Regions from separate parts of the Homo sapiens genome. Here region 1 is linked to region 2. The links are contacts of gene promoters, found by promoter capture Hi-C in blood cells and fetal thymus (Javierre and others, 2016). All regions are on one chromosome and are shown on one strand. Each heading gives the region's core, a stretch centred on a gene start or on the middle of the fragment in contact. The rest is flanking DNA. Distances are from core to core; before and after follow the strand shown. Region 1 holds the start of AURKAIP1 (aurora kinase A interacting protein 1). Region 2 overlaps SSU72 (SSU72 homolog, RNA polymerase II CTD phosphatase).

Region 1 (3,688 bases), core at 43-2,542, 170 kb after region 2:
GGGGTGAAGGGCGGGCCCGCAAATAACGTTCGTAAACCTTCCTGCTTGGAGTCCCAAGTAGCCCCTCTGAGGGGTAACGTAGAGTCATCTGGGGACCTCAGTTGTAGAGGTGGGCCTGGAGCCTGAACTTTATGTCCTCACACTGGCCTATCCTACCTGTCACTCACTGCTTAGCCAGGCTGGGCCCGGCAGATGACCTGGCCTTTCCACTTCCTGCTAAGCGTCCCTGGAAGACCCTCCTGCAAGGCAAGTCTCCGAGCAGGCCCAGCAGGCTCTGCTCCACACCCCTCTCCCACCAGGCGCCCCTGCAAGTCCATGCTGGGGTCTCTATATTAGCCAACCTCACGGAGGTCAAAGGGGCCTGTCTGGAGTAGAAAGGTGAAGCTACACGTTGGCAGCGCCTACTCTGGGGAGCATCATTAGGGGCTCAGCCAAACCCAATCCACCAGAGAGGCTGCTTTTAGTTCTCAGACAAAAAGTGTGAGTCTGATTTTTATTTTATTTATTTATTTATTTTTTTGAGACAGGATCTATGTCACCCAGACTGGAGTGCAGTGGTGCGATCTCGGCTCACCGCAACCTCTGCCTCCTGGGCGCAAGCGATTCTCTTGCCTCAGCCTCCCGAGTAGCTGGGATTACAGGCGCCTGCCACCACGCTAGGCTAATTTTTGTAGTTTTAGTAGAGACGGGGTTTCACCATGTTGGCCATGCTGGTCTCGAACTCCTGACCTCAGGTGATCCACCAGCCTCGGCCTCCCAAAGTGCTGGGATTACAGGCCTGAGCCACCGCGCCCAGCCTGCGTCTTATTTTTTTTTTTTTAACCCCAGGAATGAGGAGTCGGGGAGGCCCGGTACCGCAGGCTCAGTGCTTATTCCGGGTCCTTGGTCTCTAGCAAAAACGGGGGAAATAGCTCTAGACGCTTCCGCCTTCCACGTAACTCCACTTCCGTTGCCAGATACGTCACTTCCGTAGTCTTGAGCCCGCACTTCCGTCGGCCCGTTGGGAATCCGGCCCCTGGGTGGTCCGGAAACGATTCTGGACCTGCGGGTATATCCAGGGCCCGCACCCCCTGGGATTGTGGGAAATGTAGTTTTTTGCCTCCGTAAGGGACCAGGCGGAGCTGAGGAACCGCGCGAGGACTGGGACCGTGATTCCACTAACCGGAAACCGTCGCCTTTCGGGCCCGGCGGGGCCTGAGCCAATGCAGAATCGGGGGCCGCGAGGACGCCAGCGGGCGCTGTGCGTAGGAACCGCCGGGTGGCCGCTGCCGATCGGGGCCGACTTGGGGACGGACCGGAAGTGCCCGAGGGCGGCCGCAGAACGGTCAATTTGAGCCGCGTCGAGGTCGGGCTTGGGAAGGGTCAGCGGGAGGCCTGAGGGCGCCGGGCGCTGCGGCAGGCGGGCCCGGGGTCCAGCCGAGAGGGTCCGGGCGCCAGGCAACGCGATTCGCGCGGGGGTGAACCCGGGGAGGGGGCCGGCCTCCCCGTTCTGGGACCTTTCGGTGCGTCCGAGCGCGACACCGCCCGCGTCGGGGGCTTGGGAGCCTCGGGGCGCGAGCTGTGTTGGAAGCAAAGTCCTCCTTGTGGGTTGGGGTGGCGGAGGGAGAAGGGAAGCGAGGGTCGCGGCGGGACCAGACGCCCCAGTCCCGGCCCGCCCGCGACTACTGAAGGCGCTGCCGCCTGACCTGAACGGGCACTTGTGTTCCAGCTCCCCTGGGACCTGTGGCCGCCGCCCACAGACCATGCTCCTGGGGCGCCTGACTTCCCAGCTGTTGAGGGCCGTTCCTTGGGCAGGTAGGAAGCCGCGCGGGGGCGGATGGGAGGATGCACACCTGGTTAGGAGTGCGGGTCTCAGCAGCTCCGCTGGGGCAGGGCCGGTGGCCACACACACACTCTTTCCCCTCTAAGCTTCCGATGCTCACAGAGGGAACCTCAGGGGTTCAGGCCAGGAATGAGGTGCGGGGGATCCTCGCTGGGACGAACCTGCTGCTCCTCAACCCGACGGGCCTGTGTGGTCTCGCGAGCGGTGACCGTGGCGTCTGGTTTTCTGCAGGCGGCCGCCCGCCTTGGCCCGTCTCTGGAGTGCTGGGCAGCCGGGTCTGCGGGCCCCTTTACAGCACATCGCCGGCCGGCCCAGGTAGGGCGGCCTCTCTCCCTCGCAAGGGGGCCCAGCTGGAGCTGGAGGAGATGCTGGTCCCCAGGAAGATGTCCGTCAGCCCCCTGGAGAGCTGGCTCACGGCCCGCTGCTTCCTGCCCAGACTGGATACCGGGACCGCAGGGACTGTGGCTCCACCGCAATCCTACCAGTGTCCGCCCAGCCAGATAGGGGAAGGGGCCGAGCAGGGGGATGAAGGCGTCGCGGATGCGCCTCAAATTCAGTGCAAAAACGTGCTGAAGATCCGCCGGCGGAAGATGAACCACCACAAGTACCGGAAGCTGGTGAAGAAGACGCGGTTCCTGCGGAGGAAGGTCCAGGAGGGACGCCTGAGACGCAAGCAGGTGAGTGGCCCCCTGCTTGGCCCTGGGAGGGCAAAGTGCTGAGAACACGTTTCTTTGCCACGAATTACTTGGCGGTCCCTCTCTCTGCGTCTTGCAGATCAAGTTCGAGAAAGACCTGAGGCGCATCTGGCTGAAGGCGGGGCTAAAGGAAGCCCCCGAAGGCTGGCAGACCCCCAAGATCTACCTGCGGGGCAAATGAGTCTGGCGCCGCCCTTCCCGCCCGTTGCTGCTGTGATCCGTAGTAATAAATTCTCAGAGGACTCAGCCTTTCCTGCGGGTCTGGAGCTCCATTTGCCGGGTGTGAGGTCTCTCAGGATTGAGGCTGCTGCCAGTCCCAGGTGTTGCAGAAGACCCGGGCAGCAGGGTGGCAGATTGGCCGTCCCTCTCTCTAGCTGGCTCTTGGCCGCCGTCCAGAGGGTGCTGGGCCTGTAGGAGCCCCAGCCTCGCTGTGAGCAAATGTGTGCTGTGTGCAGTTCAGGCTAGGTGCTGTGGGATCACTGTGAACAGATCCCACAGCCCCTCCCTGAGCACCACATTCCCTGGGGAGGCCGACCCGGATGGCAGAAGTACAGGGGGACAGGACTGGGGTTTAGGGAGCACCCGGAATGCACGGGGTGATTCAGGTGTATTTCATGAGTGGAGGGTCGGGGAGGGCCTCATTGGGAAGGCAGGAAAGGTTCTGGTACCACTGGCAGTGGTGGATGGTGCCCGCCAGGCTCCGTGGACGTGATCCTCCAGTGGCCCTCCAAGCTTTCCGGCTACAGGGCCAGGGTGTTGGCCTTCCCAGGCATGTCTGCCATCTCCTGGGGCCCTGAGTGGACGTGGGGACTAAGCAGGAAGAGTTGTCCCAGAAGGGGTTCGGGGCTGGGGGGTGGCTGAGGAAAGGGTCTCGTTTACAGGGCCGAAGAATCCCTGAGGCTTAGGTTGAGCCAGAGGCCCCTGGTGTCTCCACGTTCCTCTGGGTGAAGAGGAGGAACGCATTATTCCCCCCCCCTTTTTTTTTGAGGAAGAGTCTCATTCCATCACCCAGGCTGGAGTGCAGTGGTGCGATCTCAGCTCACTGCAGCCTCTCCCTCCCAGGTTCCAGTGACTCTCCTGCCTCAGCCTCCTGAATAGCTGGGATTACAGGTGCCCGCCACCAAGCCCGGCTAATTTTTGTATTTTTGTTAGAGACAGGGTTTCACCATGT
Region 2 (3,660 bases), core at 705-3,204:
GAGAAGACGGGGTTTTGCCATCTTTTTTTTTTTTTTTTGAGACAGAGTCTCGCTCTTGTCACCCAGGCTGGAGTATAGAGGCGCAATCTCGGCTCACTGCAACCTCCACCTCCTGGGTTCAAGCTATTCTCCTGCCCCAGCCTCCTGAGCAGTGGGATTACAGGCACCCGCCACCATGCCCGGCTAATTTTTTATATTTTTAGTAAAGATGGGGTTTCACCATGTTAGCCAGGATGGTCTCGATCTCCTGACCTTGTGATCCACCCGCCTCGGCCTCCCAAAGTGCTGGGATTACAGGCGTGAGCCACTGCGCCCAGCCATAATTTTTGTACTTTAGTAGAGTCAGGGTTTTGCCATATTGGTCAGGCTGGTCTCGAACTCCTGACCTCAGATAAGCCATCCGCCTCGGCCTCCCAAAGTGGTGGGATTATAGGTGTGAGCCACCATGCCTGGCTGCAGCCTTTTTTTTTCTTTTTCTTTCTTTTTTTTTTTTGAGACAGAGTCTCGCTCTGTCCCCCAGGCTGGAGTGCGGTGGTGCGATCTTGCTCACTGCAAGCTCCGCCTCCGGGTTCACGCCATTCTCCCGCCTCAGCCTCCTGAGTAGCCGGGACTACAGGCGCCTGCCACCACGCCTGGCTAATTTTTTGTGTTTTTAGTAGAGACAGGGTTTCCCTGTGGTAGCCAGGATGGTCTCGATTTCCTGATCTTGTGATCCACCTGCCTCGGCCTCGCAAAGTTCTGGGATTACAGGCGTGAGCCACCGTGCCCGGCCCCAGGCTGGTAATTTTTTATTTTTTGTAGAGGCAGGGTTTCTTTGTTGCTCTGTGTGGACAGAAAGCTTAGTTTGTTTCTCTGATGGTTAGTCCCCCACAGAATTTTAACGTGATTCTGTGTTGATGACACTTTCTGTTGCATGAGACAATATTCCAGATCTCTCTGGGTCCCTCCTGGATTCAAGGCATCCTCCTGCCTCGGCCTCCCGAGTAGCTGGGACCACAGGTATGTGTCACAGCCCAAGGCCTCCAGCACAAGCCTTATTCTCCCATCCCCAGACTCAGGAGGCCATGCAGCCACACACCGGGGGAGGGTTCCAGACGTCACTGTGGGACGGGAGTGACACCAACAGGGCAGGGAGGGCCAGGACATTGGCTCATGCTGGCCGGTGGCCTCTCGGGATTGGCCACACGTGCTCAACCCATGGGAATCTCACTCAAGGGTCTGATGGGCCTGCTCCTCCTGTTTACGCCAAAGTCCAGAAGGCCTCCGGGGGCGAGTGGGAGGACGCAGAGTGGGTGAGCGGAGCTACCTTCCTCACCGCGGTCCATGTGGAAGCCAGGGCAGGGGAGGGGCCTGCCCACTGCACCCACCCCCAGCACCCCACCCCGTGGCTGCCACATCTCACCTCTGGACAATTTTCTTGGCCCATCCTTGGGAGTTTTTTTTTTTTTTTTTTTTTTGAGACAGAGTCTTGCTCCTGTCACCGAGGCCAGAGTGCAGTGGCATGATCTCAGCTCAGTGCAGCCTCCGCCTCCTGGCTTCAAGCAATTCTCCTGCCTCAGCCTCCAGAGTAGCTGGGACTAAGGCGCCTGCCACGACGCCTGGCTAATTTTTGTAATTTGGTATAGATGAGTTTCACCATATTGGCCAGGCTGGTCTCAAACTCCTGACCTTGTGATCCGCCTGTCTCAGCCTCCCAAAGTGCTGGGATTACAGGTGTGAGCCACCGCGCCCAGCTGGGAGTTTATTTCTTAGATGTGTGTTAACTTCAGCTGAGGCTCCTGTGTGCCTCTGTTTCATGGCCTTCGGGTGTTGGCCGCCCTCTACTGAACGTGGTCCCTGAGGCCGCAGGGACTGTGCAAAGCCGGATGTCCAGGCCCTGGGAGTCCAATGGGGGCAGTCGATTCTATGGATGGCACATCCTCTTTGCCTGCCCTGCCCTGGGCCCTCTCTTGGCCCACTTTTCTGGGTACGTTTCAGGCCCTCATGCCCAGTTGGGGCCCTAGCATGGGTCAGGCCCTCCGCCTGGTGTCGCCTTCTTGCCCGGGCTGAGTCTTTGGTTTCTTTCTTTGTGGGTTCAATGTCGAACGCTTTGCGTCAGTGGGACTTCTGCAGGACCTGGGCGGCGCAGGTGTCCGGAAGATGGGACAGGTTTCTGTTCCGATGGCGCCTCTCTCCCCTTCCTCCCGCCCGGCAGTACTTAGGTTCTTCCTTCAGAAAGGATTTCCCCATGACTTGAAGAGCAGGCTCTCGCACGCAGGCCCGAAACCTGCTCAGCCTCCCCGTGGCCCTGAGCCTGTCTATTGAAGGCCCCGCCTCACCCGCCAGCGGCTCCTGTCCTCTCGCCTTGCTCTGAGCCTTTGCCTCGTGGCACTCACTGGCACCGTGGTTTTGCTGCCGGAATTCAGGTGGGATCTTGCGTCCCTGTGAGCTCATGGCTTGGTCTGTGGTCCCTTTGGTCCTCCTCAGGTCCTCACAGCCTCTGGTGGGGCTTGCAGGTCTAGCCCTCTGGGCGGGGCCTCACCTCGCATCTCCTCGCCAGGAGATCCAGAAGGGTGGCTGCTCGCTCATCCTTGTGTAGCTGAGGAGGCTGCTGCTTTGTCCCTGAAGTAGACATTTCTCCTTAACTGAATGATTCTTAATTTATTGCCTCATCTACATAAATAGTTGAGAATGACGTAAAGGAGGAAAGGACTTAGAACTGTCCAGGCCTCAGGGAAGAGCTGGCCTTGAACGTCCATGAGCTCTGCCAGCCAGTGACACCAGTCCCATCCCCAGGAGCCCCCACGGCCTCACCCCCGGCTGTGTCTTGCTCAGGGATGTGCAGGGAGGGTGATCCCTGTGCCCACCATGAAGCTGCCACTGGACCCCTGCACCCTGACCCCGGTTCCTCTCCGTGAGCCGGTCCCTGCACCTGCCCCTCTGCATGTGGCTGCACACAACAAGGTCAGGCCGTCTTGAGCTCTTTTTTTTCTTTTCTTTTTGAGACGGTGTCTTGCTCTTGTTGCCCAGGCTGGAGTGCAGTGTCACGATCTCAGCTCACTGCAAGCTCCGCCTCCCAGGTTCAAGCTTCTCCTGCCTCAGCCTCCCGAGTAGCTGGGATTACAGGTGTGAGCCACCGCGCCCGGCCTTTTTTTTTTTTTTTTTTTTTTTTGTTGTTGTTGTTGTTTTCCAGAAGGAGTTTTACTCTGTCGCCCAGGCCGAAGTGCCGTGGTGTGATCTCGGCTCACTGCAACCTCCGCCGCCCGGGTTGAAGCAACTCTCGTGCCTCAGCCTCCTGAGTAGCTGTAGCTGAGATTACAGGTGTGTGCCGCCCCACCTGGCTAACTTTTGTATTTTTAGTAGAGACGGGGTTTCACCATCTTGGCCAGGCTGGTCTCAAACACCTGACCTCAGGTGATCCACCCGCCTCGGCCTCTCGATGTGCTGGGATGACAGGTGTGAGTCGCCACGCCCGGCCTCCTAGAATGCTGGGATGACAGGCGTGAGCCGCCGCACCCGGCCTCGAGCTCTTCTTTCCGCAGACTTTGATTCTCAGCGGCTGAAGGACTAAGTTCCCCAGAGATGGACCCGGGTGTCATAGCTGCTTCCAGGGGCCTCGGGGACACAGGCGGGACTCCAATGTGCAGGAGGAGACACACGTCAGGGGTGGGTGTGTGACTT

What was found. Contacts are between HindIII fragments. The CHiCAGO score rates a contact against its expected background, and 5 or more counts as called.
Region 1: the fragment with the promoter of AURKAIP1 here is called in contact with a fragment that was not itself captured in region 2 in 2 of 17 cell types (endothelial precursors and megakaryocytes); the score reaches 5.3 in endothelial precursors.

What each region holds. Positions count from the first base shown.
Region 1 is chr1:1,372,811-1,376,498 of GRCh38, reverse strand. It overlaps AURKAIP1 (aurora kinase A interacting protein 1), which reads left to right and starts at 1,292. Exons shown (of 4, transcript NM_017900.3): 1 at 1,292-1,345; 2 at 1,709-1,794; 3 at 2,054-2,499; 4 at 2,597-2,763. The coding sequence starts at 1,743. The coding sequence ends at 2,698. RefSeq lists silencers at 1,302-1,481, 1,502-1,551 and an enhancer at 601-1,506. The HindIII fragment of the contact is 3,347 bases long and covers 1-1,910 here.
Region 2 is chr1:1,546,352-1,550,011 of GRCh38, reverse strand. All of the region lies in intron 2 of SSU72 (SSU72 homolog, RNA polymerase II CTD phosphatase), which reads left to right. Among named protein-coding and RNA genes, the nearest start is that of TMEM240, 7.6 kb to the right of the region's middle. The HindIII fragment of the contact is 2,228 bases long and covers 841-3,068 here.